2 separate regions of the Homo sapiens genome follow, and region 2 is linked to region 1. Evidence: promoter capture Hi-C in human tissues and cell types (Jung and others, 2019). All regions are on one chromosome and are shown on one strand. Each heading gives the region's core, a stretch centred on a gene start or on the middle of the fragment in contact. The rest is flanking DNA. Distances are from core to core; before and after follow the strand shown. Region 1 holds the start of HSF5 (heat shock transcription factor 5). Region 2 overlaps PPM1E (protein phosphatase, Mg2+/Mn2+ dependent 1E).

What was found. The method cuts DNA at HindIII sites, captures the fragments that hold promoters and counts their contacts. A contact is called where the count stands out against the background at its distance.
Region 2: a contact is called between a fragment that was not itself captured here and the fragment with the promoter of HSF5 in region 1, in 1 of the 25 tissues and cell types used here (lymphoblastoid cells).

The regions. Positions count from the first base shown.
Region 1 is chr17:58,485,314-58,490,344 of GRCh38, reverse strand. HSF5 (heat shock transcription factor 5) reads left to right here and starts at 1,937. Exons shown (of 6, transcript NM_001080439.3): 1 at 1,937-2,620. The coding sequence starts at 2,071. MTMR4 (myotubularin related protein 4) reads left to right here. Exons shown (of 18, transcript NM_001378067.1): 18 at 1-808. RefSeq lists silencers at 2,226-2,275, 2,536-2,655. The HindIII fragment of the contact is 20,222 bases long and covers 1-5,031 here.
Region 2 is chr17:58,943,830-58,948,860 of GRCh38, reverse strand. The region is part of intron 1 of PPM1E (protein phosphatase, Mg2+/Mn2+ dependent 1E); the gene reads right to left. Among named protein-coding and RNA genes, the nearest start is that of TRIM37, 160 kb to the left of the region's middle. The HindIII fragment of the contact is 4,077 bases long and covers 822-4,898 here.

The DNA of each region.
Region 1 (5,031 bases), core at 688-3,187:
GTGGGTGGGACAGATACAGTCTCCTTGGCCTATAATGAAACCACTAGGACTTTATACAGTTTTCCTTAATTTGTTGACATATAAATGGTAAATTATATTTAGGCTTATCCTGTTTTGAAATGATGGTAGTCATCTTTCTTACTGCTACTTTCATGTTGCTTTCTAGAAAACAGCATTTCATTCCAAAATAACTAGGATCTGCATTTAGAACAAGAATCATTATTTGTCCTGACCTTTTCAGTCCTACAGAGACGCATCTGTGGTTCTTTTGTACTTGCCATAGATGTAACCTAAAAAGTTTTGGCATATTTAGGTCAGCCTAGCGGAACTTTTTTTTTCATTTAAATGGAGCTGAATAATGGAGATTTTGTGTCTGCAAAATTCCTGAGATCATTGAAAAAGTAACAAGCTGTTCCTTGTTTCTGATACATAAAATTATTTTAAGCATTTTATCAATCATTAAAATTTACTGCCAGTTGTGAGTGGCTTTTTAATTAACTTGTCTTTCATTGCACTTCACTCTGCCTGTTTTCAAGGGGAGTAAGATTGGTAACATTTGGGGAGACTGTATCTGTCTACTTAGCGTGGCTGTTTTGAGGGACTGTCCCATCAGTGAACAAACTGCATGGCCTTGGAGAGAGACTCTGGGCTCTTGGCTCAGATGTGTTCATCAAATACTCCTTTCAGAGCTGTTGTGGGTGTAAGTGACATGATGTGGCCAAAAATCCAAACTGTGCAGTTGCGTTGTGACAAACATGCAATGTGCTGTAAAAATTCAATACAGTTTAAATAAAATCTCTATATTAGTGCTGCTTTGTTGGGTCGTTTTATTTTCATTTCTAAAAAAACTTAATATTCACTTATTCTTTGACCATGAGAAGAGTAGAACATTGTACCCCTTTCTCCCAGCAATTTCCAATTTATTTATTTTGAGATGGAGTCTCCCTCTGTTCCCCAGGCTGGAGTGCAGTGGTGCGATCTCGGCTCACTGCAACCTCCGCCTTCTGGGTTCAAGCGATTCTCCTGCCTCAGCCTCCTGAACAGTTGGGACTACAGGTATGCTACCACGCTGGCTAATTTTTGTATTTTTAGTAGAGACAGGGTTTGACCATGTTGGCCAGGCTGGTCTCGAACTCCTGGGTTCAAGCAGTCCACCCAGCTCGGCCTCCCGAAGTGTTAGGATTACAGACATGAGCCACTGCGCCCGGCCAATTTCCGTTTTCAAATGAACCTCTCTTTTTGAATCAGCACAGCTCTTGTTACATTCTTATTTATTGATTGGCTAGGGATCGATTCTTATGGATACCGTAGAATTCTGTCCCATCTTTATTTCTCTTTAATGTCTAAAATGCCACCAGCTAGTTGGGCAGGCACACAAGATAGTACTTAGATTCTTGTGATTCCCTCCTCCTAGGGACCTCAGTTTTCATCTAACCTTGAGTAAATTGTCTTGAACAAATACTGACTTAAAAGAGTGTATCTTAAAAGATACAAAGGGCTACTATCTAAAAGGTGAGTTCGTTTACTCAAGATATTATACCTCCAGTAGCATCATTTTTGTTTGAGAGGTAAGCAGTTCCACTGTTAGCAAAGATTACAGACCAGACCCTTTGGTCCCCAGAACGACCAACTCTGCTGCCTAACGCACACTTTCTCTGCATTCCAAGTCTCCACTAGTTGGCTGGGCCGAAACACACGCCTCTTGGTATTCCACGGTGGATAACTGGGCTTCTCTCTTGTCAGGACTTAGAACACCCCGGCAGACAGCCTTCCCGGCCTGAAGTCTGGGAACGCCTGGGGAAGGGGCTCCTGCCCGGGTCCCGCAGGCGTCCGGCGGGCCGAGCTGGGGCACGCGGCCGCCGAGGGGGAGGTGCCCACGCCGCGTGGCGGGAACTCGAGGCCCCATTGGCCGCGCTGGGAGGCGCCGCGGGGCCTCGTGCGCCAACGGTCCCTGGTACGCGGCGGATGGGCGCCGGCAGGAGCGGGCAGGGCGAGGCGAAGGCCGGGGAGGGATCGAGAACGGTGTGGGAGAGCTAGGCTCGGGGGGCGAGGCCCCGGCCCGGCGGGGCGATGGAGGCGCTGCTCTCCACCCCCATCAACCCCAACAACTTCCCCGCCAAGCTGTGGCGCCTGGTGAACAGCCCGCGCTACCGCTCCATCCGCTGGGACGGCCGCGGCGAGGGGCTGCTTATCGATCAGCCGCTCTTCGAGGCCGAGCTGCTCAGCCCGCCCGGGCCGGGGGGCGGTGGCGGGACTGCGGGGGCCGGGGCCGAGCCCGAGCTCTTCAAAACCACCAGCTTCACCAGCTTCATCCGCCAGCTCAACCTCTACGGCTTCCGCAAGGTGGTGCTGGGCGGGCCGGGGGGCGGCAAACCGGCAGGCAATGGGCCGCTCCATCACTTCCACAACCCGCACTTCCGCCGCGACCAGCCACAGCTGCTCGTGCACCTCAAGCGCCTCACCAGCGCCAACAAGGCCAAGCTGGCGGCCGGCCTGGAGGTGCCCTGCCGCCCGCCCAACCGCTTCCAGCGGCTGCTCATCACCTCGGCCTCCGCCGCCACCGCGCCACTGCAGCACCAGCAGCCGCCGCCGCCCGCGGGGCCCCGGCCCGAGCCGCACGGTGAGTCCGGACTGCCCGTGCCCTCGCCCACAGTGGGCACATGGGCGGCGGGGAGCAACCGCCGCTGGAGGGCGCATTTTCGCACGTCCTCACGCTATGGGCGTCGGAAAGGCGCCGGGGACCCATTGGCCGCTGTGCTTCCCGAGACTGGCGGTCCCGCCACCGCCGCCGTTCTCAGCGGCACCAGCACGGTGGCCACCGGCCCTCCCCTGGAGGGTCCGTAAGCATTCGGCCCCTTCTGAGCCCACTGGCAGCAAAAGGGACCTCCGCCTCTTAGGCTCCCTTCTACTCGTCCCCGGTTTGAACCCCAGGAGTTTACCTGGTTGTAAGCCTCCGTTTACCTTCCTGAGACCCACACTGTCCACTGTAAACATGTGGACTCAGTAGTCCTTCGTTGAAACATTGGGTCTGGAAGAAACAAAAGGGGCTCCTTTGCTCCCGTGGGAAGCAGAGTGGAGTCACCCTACGGGTTAAGGCGGGATGGAACAAAATCGTAGTCAAGAGAATTTAGAACATTACGGTTGGGCGTGGTGGCTCACGCCTGTAATCCCAGCACTTTGGGAGGCCGAGGCGGGTGCATCACGAGGTTAGGAGTTTGAGACCGGCCTAACCAACAGGGTGAAACCTCGTCTCTACTAAAAATACAAAAATTAGCCAGGCATGGTGGTGCACGCCTGTAATCCCAGCTACTTAGGAGACTGAGGCAGGAGAATCGCTTGAACCCAGGAGGCAGAGGTTGCAGTAAGCCGAGATAGTGCCACTGCACTCCAGTCTGAGCAACAGAGCGAGACTCGGTCTCAAAAAAAAAAAAAAAAAAAAAAAGAGAGAACTTAGAACATTACAATAGCAGGCAAGGGAAAGTTTTGGAAAAGGTGCCTGCAGTGGAAATTTGTCCTTGAAGAGGGCTGCCACCTTCCACCTATTGGCACATCTAAGAAATCTTAGAAGTGCTACGACAATCATCAGATTTAAGGTTCTGGTTAATGTGTAGAATGGTAGACGTTGTTTATATACCTTAAGAGCAAAAATACAACGATACATCGTGGCTTACAAGATATAGTTCCTATGTAGAATGAATTGGCTACACATTTCTTTCATTGAAGCAAATTAGAGCTTGATGCTTCCTTAAAGGGGTATGATTAGACAAACATAAGGCAAAGATGGTTTTCTTTACAGCTGTCAAGTTTTAGTTAAAAAAGAATTTTAGAAAGCTCACATTTACAGCCTTTGGAGTTTTCACTATTGGCTACAATCTTTCAGTATTGAAAAAACTTTTTGGTATACATCTGTATTTAGTAAAAGTTAAGAAACCCTCTGTGATAGTGGATTATTTATTTTTTATTATTTGTTTATTTTTTTGAGACGGAGTTTCGCTCTTGTCACCCAGGCTGGAGTGCAATGGCGCGATCTCGGCTCACCACAACCTCCGCCTCTCGGGTTCAAGCAATTCTCATTCCTTAGCCTCCTGAGTAGCTGGGAATACAGGCGCGTGCCACCATGCCCGGCTAATTTTTATATTTTTTAGTAGAGACGAGGTTTCACCAGGTTGGCCAGGCTGGTCTCGAACTCCTGACCTCAGGTGATCCGCCAGCCTTGGCCTCCCAAAGTGCTGGGATTACAGGCCTGAGCCACTGCGCCCTGCCTATTTTACTTTTTGAGATTAAGTCTCACTGTGTTGCCCAGGCTGGCGTGCAATGGCAAGATCTCCGCTCACTGCAACCTCTGCCTCCCGGGTTCAAGTGATTCTTCTGCCTCAGCCTCCAGAGTAGCTAGGATTTTACAGGTGCCTGCCACCACACCTCGCTAATTTTTGTATTGTTAGTAGAGATGGGGTTTCACCATGTTGGCCAGGCTGGTTTTGAACTCCTGACCTCAGGTGATCCGCCCATCTTGGCCTCCCAATGTGCTGGGATTACAGGTGTGAGCCACTTCACATGGCCAAATTATTTTATAGACTTGATTTTTTTTTTTTTTTTTTGAGATAGGGTTTCACTCTGTCCCCCAGGCTGGAGTGCAGTGGCAAGATCTTGGCTCACTGCAACCTCCACCTCCCGGGCTCAAGGGATCCTCCCACCTCAGCCTCCCGAGTAGCTGGGACTACAGGCGTGGCCACCACACCCAGCTAATTTTTTGTATTTTTGGTGGATACAGGGTTTCACTCTGTTGCCCAGGCTGGTCTGGAACTCCTGGGCTCAAGTGATCTGCCCACCTTGGCCTCTGGAAGTGCTGGGATTACAGGCGTGAGCCACCACTGCGCCAGGCCTGTAGACTTGATTTTTGATGCTCTTCCCCCTCTTCCAGGAAGGCAAGGGTGGCAATATTCCATTTCTCTGTTTAAAGAGTCCATGATATGAAGCAGTATACCAAGAAACCAACAGGGTGTAATCATTCATTCATTCTTCACCTTCAGC
Region 2 (5,031 bases), core at 1,611-4,110, 460 kb before region 1:
TGGAATAAAACTAGAAACCAATAACAAGTGAAACATTCAAAATTACACAAATACATGGAAATTACACAACATGCTCCTAAACAACCAATGGGTGAAGAAAGAAATTAAGAAGGAAATTGACTAATTCCTTGAAACAAATGAAAACAGAAACACAACATACCAAAACCTATGGGACTCAGCCAAAGCAGTATATAATATGTCTCTGCAGTAAAAATATGTATGAAAATTGAAATTAAATTTTTAAAAACTTTCTGTGACCATAAGGCTCCAGCGTTAAACATTTTCTTTTTCATTGCCTTATCAGTGTAACTACTGGTACACAAATGATCTAATATAGTATACACTTTGATAAACATAAAAATTAAACTCTCATTGGAGAATTTTTTTTTAAAGGAAGAAACCTTACTTGCCAGATAAGAAATCTTATCTGCCATGGTCTTGGCCTCAATGAAATCTTGGACCTCAAGCTTCAGCCTAATACCATAATGGGATTAGACTTTGGGAAATCTTAGGGGATGTTGGGTGAGTGCATTTAGCACATGGGAAGGATGTGAATTGTGTGGCCAGAAAAGACTGTGGCAGATTATTTTTAAAAAGGCCGCAACAGCATTCCTGGTCCCGCATGCTATTTTAGAACTTTGCCATTCCCCATAAAAAAATAGAGTCTGTTTCCCTTCCTAATCTAAACATGGGTGAGGTGTGGTGACTACTCGGATGAAAAAAATGTAGCAAAAGTGATACTGTGTGACTTTTGAAGTTTGTTCATAAAAGGCCACGTGGCTTCCCCCGGCTTCCTCTTCTTTCTTCCTCTGTCTCCCTCTGGATACTTGCTCTTCATACTCAGCCAAGCCATCAAGCCATGAGGAAGCCCAAACTAGCCATGTGGAGAAACCACATGAACAGGCTCATGTGGATGTAGCCTGAGGTCTCCCAGGCAGTAGCCATTATCAATTGCTTGACATGTAAGTTCACAAGCCTTCAGATGATTCCAGTCCCCCAGCCTGAGTCTTCCAACAGAGACCCCAGTTGGAACAGAGATAAGGTGACCTTGCTTTACCCAGTTTTAATTTCTGACTGAAAGACATTGTGAGCATAATAAATAATTGTTTTATGCCACTAAGTTTTGTGGTAATTTGCAATACAGTGACAATAACTGAAAACCCAATATTTAGAAGCTTAGTAGAAGACAAGGGACCTATGAAGACTAAAGAGAAATGGCAAAATCTGTAAAAGGAGAACCGAGATAGTAGAGAGTATTTGAAGGAGGGAGCAGTGAACTCTGTCAATTGCTGAGAGGTCAAATAAGTGAAAAAAAAAAAAAAAAGGCCAGGTGCAGTGTCTCGTACCCGTAATCCCAGCCCCTTGGGAGGCCAAGGTGGGTGGATCACCTGAGACCAGGAATTCAAGACCAGCCTGGCTAACATGGTGAAACCCTGTCTCTACCAAAAATACAAAAACTAGCTGGGTGTGGTGGTGCACGCCTATAATCCCAGCTACTTGGGTGGCTGAGGCATGAGAATCGCCTGAACCCAAGAGGCAGAGGTTGCAGTGAGCTGAGATCACGTCACTGCACTCCAGCCTGGGTGATAAAGCAAGACTGTCTCAAAAAAAAAAAAAAAAAAAAAAAGGCCAGGAGTGTGGCTCACACTTGTAATCCCAACACTTTGGGAGACCGAGGTGGGCAGATCACACTCAAGCCTGGGCAACAGAGCAAGACTGTCTAAAAAAAAAAAAAAAAAAAAAAAAAAAACAGGAAAAAGGAAAATAACTTTCTGTTTAACAAAATGGTCAAATGGTGCTGGAAAAATTGGATATCCACATGCAAAATAATCAAGTTGGACCCCTTCCTTACACCATATACAAAAATTAATGCCAAATGCATCACAGACCTAAATGTAAAGCTAAAACTCATAAAACTCCTAAAAGAAAACTCCTAAAAGAGTAAATCTTCATGACCTTGGATTAGGCAATGGTTTTCTTAGCTCTGACACCAAAAGCACAAGCAGAAAAGAAAAAAAATATTAAATTGGACTACATCAAAATTTAAAACTTTTGTATCACAAATCAGTAAAGTGAAAAGACAACCCATAGACTGGTAGAAAATATTTGCAAATCTGCCAGGCATAGTGGCTTATGTCTGTAATTTTGGTACTTTGCAAGGGGGTAAGGTTGGGGCCAGGAGTTTGAGATCAGCCTGGGCAACTTAACAAGACCCTGTCTCAAAACAAACAACAACAAAATAGCTGGGTATGGTGGGCACACCTGTAGTCCCAGCTAATTGGGAGGCTGAGGCAGGAAGATCGCTTTAAGCCCAGAGTCCAAGGCTGCAGTGAGCCATAATCATCGTTATATTCCAGCCCGAGAGACAGAGAGACCCTGTCTCAAAACAAAACAAAAAATTGCAAATCATATATCTAATGAGACTGGTATCCCAAATATGTAACGAATCCTTATATTTCAATAATAAAAAGACAACCCAAAGGCTTTTTTCCAAAGAAGATATACAAATGGGCAATAAGCACATGAAAAGATGTGCAACATCTGTGACATAATTGGAAATAAATATTTGTCCTCCGCCTTGGTTCCTGACACAGAGCCCCTAAAACCCTTTTTATTTCCTGAGTGACGGGGTACTGGAAGCATCTTCTAATATTTAGTCTTTGAACCTGGTTTCTGACATAGAGCTTCTAAATCCCTTGGAATTTCCTGTATAGTCTATGAGTGCCTTTTGGTCTTATGAAGCAGTTCTTGGTGGGCTACTGGATAGCTTCAGGATGGCAACTGGGCATCAGAAAGATCAACCCATAATAAGAGGCCTGGAATATTCAACCCTATTCCCATTTTCTAGGGAAGGGAGAGAGATGGGAGATTGACTTAATAATTATTTGAACATGCCTACGTGATGAAGCCTCCATGCAAATCCTTAAAAGATGGGATTTTGGGAGCTTCTGGTTTGATGAACATAACTATGTGCTAGAAGGGTGGCATACCCCACCTCCAACAGAACCTATTATGTTTGAGACCCTTCCCCTTCAGGACCTCACCCTGTATATCTCTCTTTATCTGGCTGTTCATTTATATCCTTTATAATATCCTTTCACAAACCAGTAAACATAAGTGAATGTTTCCCTGAATTTTGTAAGACATTATAGCAAATTATTTAACTTCGGAGAAGGTTGTAGGAAACCTTGATTTATAACCAGTTGGTCAGAAGTTTGGGAGGTCCAGACTTTTAACTGGCATCTGAGGTGGGGCATCTTGCAGGACTGAGCCCGTTATCCTGTGGGATCTGTTGTAACTCCAGGCAATTAGTGTCAGAATTGAGTTAAATTGTAAGACACCTAATTGATGTCCAGGGAGAAATGGAGAATTGGTTGGTGGGAAAACCCCACACACTTTTAGTGTCAGAAGTGTGTGAGGCTGGGCAAGGTGGCTCACGCCTGTAATCCCAACACTTTGGGAGGCCAAGGCGGGACGATCACCTGAGGTCAGGAGTTCGAGACCAGCCTGGCCAACATGATGAAACCCCGTCTCTACTAAAAATACATAAGTTAGCTGAGTGTGGTGGCATGCCTGTAATCCCAGCTACTCGGGAGGCTGAGGCAGGAGAATCGCTTGAACCCAGGAGGTGGAGGTTGCAGTAAGCAGAGATCATGCCACTGCACTCCAGTCTGTATGACAGAGTGAGACTCAGTCTCGAAAAAAAAAAAAAAAGAAGTGTGTGACTGTACAGAAAAACAGGTTTTTTTCTTCCCCTTTTAACATCATTAGTCATTAGGGAAATGCTAATCAAAACCACAATGAGAAACCATTTCACATCCACTAGGATAGCTATAATAAAATAGCTATAACAAAAAAGACAATTAGTAATAACAGGTGTTGGCAACTATATGGATAAATGGAACTCTCATACATTCCTAGTGGAGATGTAAAGTGGTACAGCTGCTTTGGCACTTCCTTAACATTTTAAACATAAAGTTACCATATGGCCAGCCCAGCAATTCCACTCCTAGGTATACATGCATGAGAAATAAAAACATATATTCACAAAAAACTCATACATTAATGTGCACAGCAGCATTGTTTATAATCGCCAAATAGTAAAAACAACCAAGTGTCCATCACTTGATGGATAAATAAAATGCAATATATTCATACACTGGAATATTAGCCATAAAAAAGAATGAAGCACTTATACATGCTACAGTGTGGATGAACCTTGAAAACATTATGGATAGCAACAGAAGCCAGTCACAAAGACCACTTATTGTAGAATTTATAATTCTATAATAATAATTATATGAAAAGCCCAGAATAGGAAATTTATAGAAGCAGAGAGTAGTGGTAGCTTAGGGCTGGAGGGGTGGTGGGAATGAGGAGTGACTGCTAATAGGTAGGGGGTTTCTTTCTGGGGTGATGAAAATTTTCTGGAACTTAGGGTGACGGTTGAACAACTGTGACTGTATTAAAATCCTTGAATTGTACACTTTTTTAAAAAGGCAAGTCATGTGAAGCAGTGGGAGTAGAGAAGGAACAAAGAAACCTATGACTGGTTGTGATCAGTTAGTTGTAAACTTTAAATGGGTAAATTTTATATTATGCGAATTATATCTCAATAAAGATAATAAAAAAACTACTGACTTTGTCAAGAACTACTGAATAGTGGAAGTGAAAATCAGGCTAGAATGGGTTAATTACTGAGTAGGGGGCAGGGAGGTTTGGCACAGAGGGGAAACAGAGATATGGGGCAGTAACTGATAGGGGATAGGGGAAAGGGAAAGTCTGTTGTTGTTTTAGAATGGTGTAGAATCTGACTGTAGGATGAGGCACATTTCCTTAGTTGGAAAAAGAAGAAAATCAGTACAGATGCAGGTATGTTTTTAGATGTTAGTAGGAAACGACGGGTATTCCCATTTAATGATTTGAGACAACAAATATTTATTGAGGCCTACTATGTACCAGGCACTGTTCTAGTGCTCAGGGTATATATAAACAAAAAAGAAAAAACCCCTGCCCTCTTAGAGCTTACAT